Regions from separate parts of the Homo sapiens genome. Here regions 2 and 3 are each linked to region 1. The links are contacts of gene promoters, found by promoter capture Hi-C in human tissues and cell types (Jung and others, 2019). All regions are on one chromosome and are shown on one strand. The core of a region is centred on a gene start or on the middle of the fragment in contact, and the rest is flanking DNA. Distances in the headings are between cores, read along the strand shown. Region 1 holds the start of GPR15 (G protein-coupled receptor 15). Region 2 overlaps CRYBG3 (crystallin beta-gamma domain containing 3). Region 3 overlaps ARL6 (ARF like GTPase 6).

The links. Contacts are between HindIII fragments. The study calls those that stand out against the background at their distance.
Region 2: a contact is called between a fragment that was not itself captured here and the fragment with the promoter of GPR15 in region 1, in 1 of the 25 tissues and cell types used here (dorsolateral prefrontal cortex).
Region 3: a fragment that was not itself captured here is called in contact with the fragment with the promoter of GPR15 in region 1 in 1 of the 25 tissues and cell types used here (hippocampus).

The regions. Positions count from the first base shown.
Region 1 is chr3:98,530,553-98,533,252 of GRCh38, reverse strand. GPR15 (G protein-coupled receptor 15) reads right to left here and starts at 1,275. Exons shown (of 1, transcript NM_005290.4): 1 at 1-1,275. The coding sequence starts at 1,219. The coding sequence ends at 137. RefSeq lists a silencer at 1,255-1,414. The HindIII fragment of the contact is 5,385 bases long and covers 455-2,700 here.
Region 2 is chr3:97,932,877-97,935,576 of GRCh38, reverse strand. CRYBG3 (crystallin beta-gamma domain containing 3) reads right to left here. Exons shown (of 22, transcript NM_153605.4): 18 at 1,744-1,883. Among named protein-coding and RNA genes, the nearest start is that of RIOX2, 38 kb to the left of the region's middle. The HindIII fragment of the contact is 3,013 bases long and covers 1-2,700 here.
Region 3 is chr3:97,796,022-97,798,721 of GRCh38, reverse strand. ARL6 (ARF like GTPase 6) reads right to left here. Exons shown (of 8, transcript NM_001278293.3): 8 at 1-698. The coding sequence ends at 673. Among named protein-coding and RNA genes, the nearest start is that of CRYBG3, 25 kb to the left of the region's middle. The HindIII fragment of the contact is 3,468 bases long and covers 1-2,700 here.

The DNA of each region.
Region 1 (2,700 bases), core at 26-2,525:
AGTCCTCTCTTTAAAAATGAACTCTTCCTTGCATCTATGAAGCAATGTGAATCCTATCATTAACACTTCCTTCTTTGTTGCTGACAAAAATTAACTCCTAAACCCACCAACAGAGCTTGAAATGTCACAGTTCCCTTTAGAGTGACACAGACCTCTTCCTCCTCCTGGCAAAATCTTCTGCATGAATGAAGGTGGAGAGAGCCTTAGTGAGGTGACTATCTGATGTCTCAGTGCTACTCCCAAAGTCATAGTTTTTCAGGCAAGGGCACAAGCAGTGGACAATGGCCCGGCGGATGTAGCTGTCGAAGATATAGTAAATGAAAGGGTTGACACAGCTGTTGGCAAATGCCAAGGGTCCACTCACCTCCATACCAAGCTGAAGAATAGCTGAGGGTAAATAGTGTTCTTGCCGCAACCCAGAGACAATGGCCAGGAACTTGAAAGTATTGAAGGGCAGCCAGGAGACAAGAAAGGCTGCCACGACAATAAAGATGATCTTTATAGATTTCTTCAGCTTTTTGTTGTGCTTTCCTGATTGCTGGTAATGGGCACACAGCTTCCTTGCAATGCAACAGTAGCAGGTCACAATGCTCAACAAAGGGACAAAAAAGGTGAAAATTAAGGCCACCAGGGACCATATGAGTTTAATTGGAGTTGCCTTTTTCTCTGCACAGTATGGCTTATCATCAATCAGCGTGAGCTCCCTGGACAGAAGAGTAGGCAACCCCAGCAGGCAGGAGATAAACCAGATGCTGGCACAGACTACATATGCACAGTCTGTCCTTCTGAATTTCCTGGATACGACTGGCCACACAATGGCCAGGTAGCGGTCAACACTCATGCAAGTGAGCAGGAGGACACTGCAGTGCATATTGACGGAGATCATGTAGGAGCTCCCTTTGCACAGGAAGGAGCCCGTCCTCCACAGTCCTAGAGATGCTTCTTTATCCACCCAGAGAGGCAATGTGACAAGAAAAATGAAGTCAGAGGCAGCCAGATTGATGATAAAGATGTCGATCAGTCTTCGGCTGCCGGGTTTGAAATGCAACGCTCCCATGAGAACAAGGTTCCCCAGCACTCCAGTCAGGAACACAGCTGTGTAAAAGACTGGAAGGAAGACAGAGGTGTAAGGAACATGGGAGTGGGTCTCCCTGATGTCAGAGTTTGGGCTCGTAGCATAGTAATAATCCAAATAAACTGAAGTTTCTTCTGGGTCCATCACCAAAGAGCAGATGCCAAATCTGGTGAGTTTACTTACATATGATGTTTTTGTATAAATTTTAGAAACCTCAAGGAAGCTTCTTTTATACAGTGCCTGCCTCTCTCTCTCTTTTTTCCCCTCCCTTTAAAGATCTTGGACAAACATGAAAGCCGAGATTAAAAAATGCAGTTTCTACCAATCCTCAGAAAGGGCACACAAGGAGCACCACTCTGATTGGTGTTGGTTGGTTGTGGTTGTGGTTTTTTTAATTTGCATTTGCTCGTGAAACTGAGGTGCTTTTTGAGTTATTTTTTCAAGATATTCAATTTATTTCTTTAAGGCCAGTAATTAAGAAGTGAATTAACTTGATTTTTTCACTTCCTTTAAAGACCTCCTTTGCTTTTGACACTGAAATTTATTTTGATCTAGCCTTCTGTTTCACATAGAAGATATTGTTCTGCTTTTAGAATTGTAAGGCAATGATAATGTATTCTTTTTATTTACTTTGTTGGCGAACTAGGAAGAAAACTAGTCTTTCATTGTGTAAAGAGTGAATGAAAAGTTTCCCAAATCATACCAGTATACAACTAGGTCAAACAACATGATTCCATTTAGGGCATGAGAGTCTCCCCATCTATGTGGCTCTTTCATTTGACATGTAGTCAATCCTGTTTCATAAGTTTTTAAAAATCCCCCCCCAAAGACTGGGACCACGTTTTCTGCTCTTATTATTTTAAGTTTTCCACTACAACTTGCATAGCATCTTGCATATAGTTGGTGCTTTGGAAATTGTAGTTTATTAGGTTTGATTCAGAAAATTCTTTTTGTTATCCAGCATATCTAGTAGAAATGAATTCATTGGGGTCTAACTTCAGGTATTGTTGTTATTTATGTAACTTACAAACACAGGTTTAACAATCTCAAGTTGCTATTTTTACCCTCCTATCTGCTATTGTAATTCAACCAGTGAAGTTCTCTTTTGTTAAGAGTTAACATCATTGATTAGGAGATTTTCTCCCTATTAACCCTCAAATACGCTTCATCAGACTCTGGATCCCCTCTGATCTTCTCTTCATTATACCACACCTGTGTAGCACTGATTTTTTTAGCTTCTGAGCCATGGCCTTCTGGTACCTCCACACATGGGTGAACATCACTTTTGGAATTGCTGATTGCTGATCTGGCAACAGATATACCTATAAGTGACATCATGATGGAGGTGCCAGCATGGACACTATAAAAGGGAAGATTTTTTAGTACATTTAAAACACTTGGGGAACAGGCTAAAACAGAAAGAATTCTATCACATTTTTCTCTCATATGTTTCCTTTTATATTATGATGACCATAGTAAAATATAACACATTTTGAAACGGACTCCATTTATTTCAGCTCTTTACTGGTCAAAGTGACTCAAGGCTCTCTTGCACTATTCTTCTCTCCTATCTGATTTAATCTTCAGAATTCTAGTTTCAGGTTGATATTGCTATTCATAGAAAA
Region 2 (2,700 bases), core at 49-2,548, 600 kb after region 1:
AGAAGGGGAGAGCTGAGGAAAGCTTGATGTATTACAGCTATGAAAGCTTGGGTAGGGATGACTGACTCAACCTGACCACCACTAAGAAAAGTCCTCCTTGCTCCCCACAACCAAGATCAGACTTGACCAAATTATGGAGAGATGAATGAGATGGATGGCCCATTCTTGACCCCTCCTTCCTACACAAATCTAATCAATCAGACTGGTGGAGAGGCAGGTCAGCATGACCACGGACAGGCTTAGCTGCCTCTCCCGCTGCAGATTCTTTAAACTGTCAGGGAAGTTTCAGTTATAAAATCTAGGTAAGATTTTAGGAAAATGTACCTAATTATATATTGATTTAAATGAATTCCACAGTTGGAAAACTGTGTGGGATGGTGCATTTAAGCATGGCTGTCATCATCACAGATCAAAGATGTGGCATAGCATGGGGATTAAAACAAACCCAACTTGTAACTAAGGGAAGCTGGCTGTACATTAAGTAGTATTCTGTAACCTAGGAAAATCCTTAGGCAGCCTTCACTGTTCCTTACTCCATGTTCCAATTCTCTTAAAGAGAATTTGGAATAGTGAGAGTAGGTGGCTAATAAGCCAAAGAGAAGAAATAAGAATGTCAAGATAAAATGGCACCAGTGTTCCAGAAAAAAATGAAATAAGAAAGTGAGAAATTTTCAGAAGTGAGTCAAGTATCAATTTCACTCAGAAATGGGAAGAAATGAATTAAAATGTTGTGAAAGACCTATATCACAGGGATGTAAAATTTAGTTAATTGGTAAATAATATATTGGAATCTTATGCTTAGATAGAATAAATCAATTTGTCTGAATAAACATCAAACCATTTAAAATGTTTTGCAGAAGAAAACTTAAGCTATTTATACAAGTGTATAATATAAAAGCCATTTATTATAATAGTTTGCTTAATTTTCACCTCCACTTATATTATTGGCTTTCTCTTTATCCCCAGATATTTAAACCAGCACAGTTGATTATCACGGAATTTCAAAGCCATAGAAAAACTTTTAAAGCCATTTTTTTATTAACCGTCAAGAGCTATGTGTGTTTTTTTAGTTGACTTTTGCTACCAGAACACTAACAGTGCAGGAGTAGGGGCTGGTTTATATGCCGGACTCTTCAGAACTGGATTCAGAGGCAGATTTTCCAGGAAGCAAACAGAGCTTCAACTTCAAGGCCCCTCACTTACAGGCTTCTCACCATTTCTGTCCTAAGTATTCACATTGATATCTAATATTTCTATCATAATTTTAAATTTTTTCTTAAAGGCAGCTTTCTAATTTGTAAAAGCACAGGCCCCTGGGTCTACCCTGACTGACTGATAACCTAAATGAACAACAATACTGGTAGGCAGGCTAGGCCAACCAGTGTAGTCCACAGGCAAGTGAGTACCCTGGAGGAACTGCTCTAGAATACATGGCTATTAAATCAAAAAACAACATCGAACTTGGTCTTGCCAGCAGTCACTTGCCTTAAGCAGGAAATTGTCTTAACCAAAGTTGCTGGGATATTGAAATTTCTTCTGAAAAGAAAGTTCAACTGGGTAAAGTCATTTGATTGACCTACTCTATGACACATGCTGTGACCATATGGTAGCCCTTCTCTTCCAAAGGGCTCTTCCTCAAGACCACTTGAATGCGTACTACTACACAGTGGACTTGGTTTGCAACTCTGCAACTCTGTCTTAAAACAGTAACTGAACCAGACCAAGCCTTTTTCCCATACTTACAGTCCACTTTTTACCCACACAGACTGGGTGTAGAAGTGTAGGTCCTTGTTCAGAACAGAGTTCACAGCCTCTTCTAGATGTAACTCTCTTCCCTCACAATGCTCCAGAGCAAAAAGGCTGATGGAGGGTTCTTCAAAAACCTATTAGCAGAAAAAGAAAGCGTCACCATAGGAGTGGCCATATCTCAGTGACATCCCAGTCTGAACACAGGGTACCCTGAATCCATTGTATTCTTAAATGCATGGAGTTTACTGTTTTACTCTCTAAGGTTGCTATAGTCAAAACTGCACTGGAAAGATTAGATTTTATTAATAATTTTTGTTCACTTTTTTGTAAACTAAAATTCAAGTTATCAGAAAAGCAATCAATCTCATAATAAAAACAGCCATAATAAAGAGACCCATGATTCCAAATCACAGATTAAGGTCTTGTGGTACTGTAATATGGACCATAATTAGTCCTGCCAATGCTTTTAGCTGGCAACAGAATAAATATGGAATGGAATGGCACCCTAATTTCTAGGAGGTCACAGGAGCAGTCACTAGGAATGTAAGACTCTGTGGTGGTAAGCTCTTAAAAATATTCCTAGGAGGAAGAATAAAGGCATTTTTAATTTAAAAAAAGCTGAAATGCACAAGAATGGTGGTGATTTCTGCATTAAAAGTATTTCTTCAACCCATCATGTCAGACAAGAATAGACTCAGTATTGCTTTTTCATTCATTAATGTATGCAAGACACCATGTTAAGAGACTTTTGGGGGGATGATAAAACAAGGCACCATCTATCCTTGTGTCTGGGGAATTACTAACAAATAGTTAAATTAAAACTGTACAGATATTGTAATGTAATCCAGTGCAGAAAAAGATATGCTGTGTCAGAGTCCTCAGTAGAAAGCTAGATTATTTTTAGCAGAAGGGAGCAGGAATCAAGCTTCATGGATGTGGTGGCTTGTGAGC
Region 3 (2,700 bases), core at 147-2,646, 730 kb after region 1:
TTTACCTCGTAACATCATTGCCTAGGACTATGTCTGACTAGTTGGTGTAGAGATGTTCAACATACACTGAATAAATAAATTCAGCTTAACTTAGTCTCAGATGGTTTACAAATGCTTGACAGTATGACACGAAATACCATACTAACAGAGCATTATTCTTTTCAGCATAAACAAAGCGCACTAGTTGGCACATTATATTTTACATTTTATTGACAGTGACACATAGTAAAAATTGAATATATATTAATTACCCATGGTCCCTTATAAATATTTAAAGTTCTTTTTCACAAGCACAATTCATACTGCAAAGTCATAAACTAAATTTTTTAAAAAGACAATTAAAAAATAAAATATATTAAACATATCATAAATTATGATGGGATGAGATGGCTTATAACTGACTTTTAAACATTCTACGTACAATCAAATGTAGACCTTCACTAAGAACTTGATAATTCTAGGGAGCCCTTTTGAGGGAATATTTAGTTTTTAAATAATTAATGGCCAAATTAGCATACCTGAAGTCCTATGTTCTTAAAAAGGTCAGAGTCCATAAATGCAAGCAGAAAATTATATTTTTTGATGCATAAACATCTTTTACAAAATGTATTCTATTTGTCTTAGATAGATTCCTTGAATTGAAAATTGCTGAGGTTTCCAACTATTATCTTTTCATGTCTTCACAGTCTGGATCTGATCTGATAACAAAAAACAAACAAAAATTATCAATCTCTATAGGGCAAAATCTATTTTCTAAAGTAATCTAAGTCAAATCTATACAACATGTTGGAAACTTATGTATACATGTGCTTTTGTTATTATTATTTTTTAGAGATAGGATCTTGCTATGTGGCCCAGGCTGTACTGGAACTTCTGGGTGCAAGTGGTCCTCCCACCTGAACCTCTCTAGTAGTTGAGACTACAAGTGTGCACCAGGTCCAGCTACACCTGCTTTTTTAAAAGCACAATTCATCTATAGTTATTATTTTTATCAAAGTTGTACATTTGCATAGAGTCAACTAGTTCTATGAGATTTCTAGGCAAAACAGCAGTACTTTGCTTCTTCTCCATTCCTCCCTTTCAGGGGCAACTACTTATAACTCCCTTTTAGATGAATACTTATAATACCTCTAAATAATATACTTTTATTGTTACTTCTTCAAATATCATTTCCTTCAATGTAATATGAGACATCAGCTCTCTCACACTCCCATGCTGCTCCTAGGCAACCCTCATAATACTTCTAATACCCCCATTCTCCTAACACACTAATATAGTCATTGTCAATATGATGACTCTGTAAATGCTATTCACAGCTAAGACAGGTGGTATACTTTTTCTTTCCTCTTCTATATTTTATCCCTCCTAGAGTTAATAATTGTCTTTCCCACTCCCATCCAACTCATCTATTTAATTGTATGTACTTAACACTAATTCAATTGCACCACTCCCAGAGTTTAAACCTTTATTACTATGAAGTACATTACACAGTCCATCTACTTTGCCTTCTTGAAGAACTCTTCCACAGAGTCTTATAAAAAACTCTAGAATCTATACTCATTTTCTCTATGCCTGCCACAGTCATTTTGTTACAATATCTTCCTTATCATTCTAGGGTCTCCATTAATATCCTGGGGATTCCTTCCCCTACTCTCTGTGCTGGTTTTCCTGTCTCATGATCCCTCAATTTTCTCTTCTTGGTTTATTTCCTTTTATTTTTTTGATAATGCTGGTACCAAGATTTTCCTGTTTTTGAAAAATATTCTTCTCAGTGGCTACCTTAGTAAAAAGGACAGAAAGTAAATTCTTGAGATACCATATAGCTGAAGATGTCTTTATTCTACTGTCAAAATGCACTGATACTGCCTGAGTATATAATTCTATTATTCCCTCCTTGGACTCTTCCAGGCATTTCCCAATTATCTTACAGCTTCCAAGTTGTTGCTGTTGATAAATCTGATGTTATTCTGTTTTCTTATTCTTTTTTTCCTCAGGAAGCTTTAATTTTTTTTCTCAGGAAGCTTGCAGAATCTTCCACTGTTTGCAGCACTGCATTTTAGTAATGATACCTGCTGGTATGGGAATATTTTTATCCACTGTATTGAGCTCTTGAGAGGCCTGTCAACTGAAAACTCATCAATTTAGTTCTAGAAAATACTGTTCGAGGATTTGCTATCCTCTACTTTTTTCTGTTCTCTCTTTCTGAATTTCCTATTATTTGGATATTGGGCCTCCTGAACATGACCCCTTTCTTTTCTTTCAAATTTTCTATTCTTTGTCTTTCTGCTCTACTTTCTGGGAGTTTGCCTCTATTTTATCATCTTTTTAAAACTAAATTTTTCATTTCAACTACTATATTCTTATTTTCCAAGAACTCATTTTTTTTCGTTCTTTCTTTTCAAGTAGTTTACTGCCTTTATTCATGAAAGTAACACCTTCTCTTATCTCTTTGAGGATACTCTTTAACAGTTTTTTGAAATGTTCTCTCTATATAAATTCTACTTACTCGAACCCACTTTTCTTGTTTGTGCACATTCCCATATTTCATAATGTTTTCATCCTCAAATGCCTGGTCATCCTTTGCCATCTGTTCATATGTATAAGTGAACACTAAAAAATTGATTGGAATTTGCAAACGTGTGTGAAGCTTGTCAAATATGGTCTTCCTTTTAGTACGTCTGGCTAAGCCATTTCCTTGGG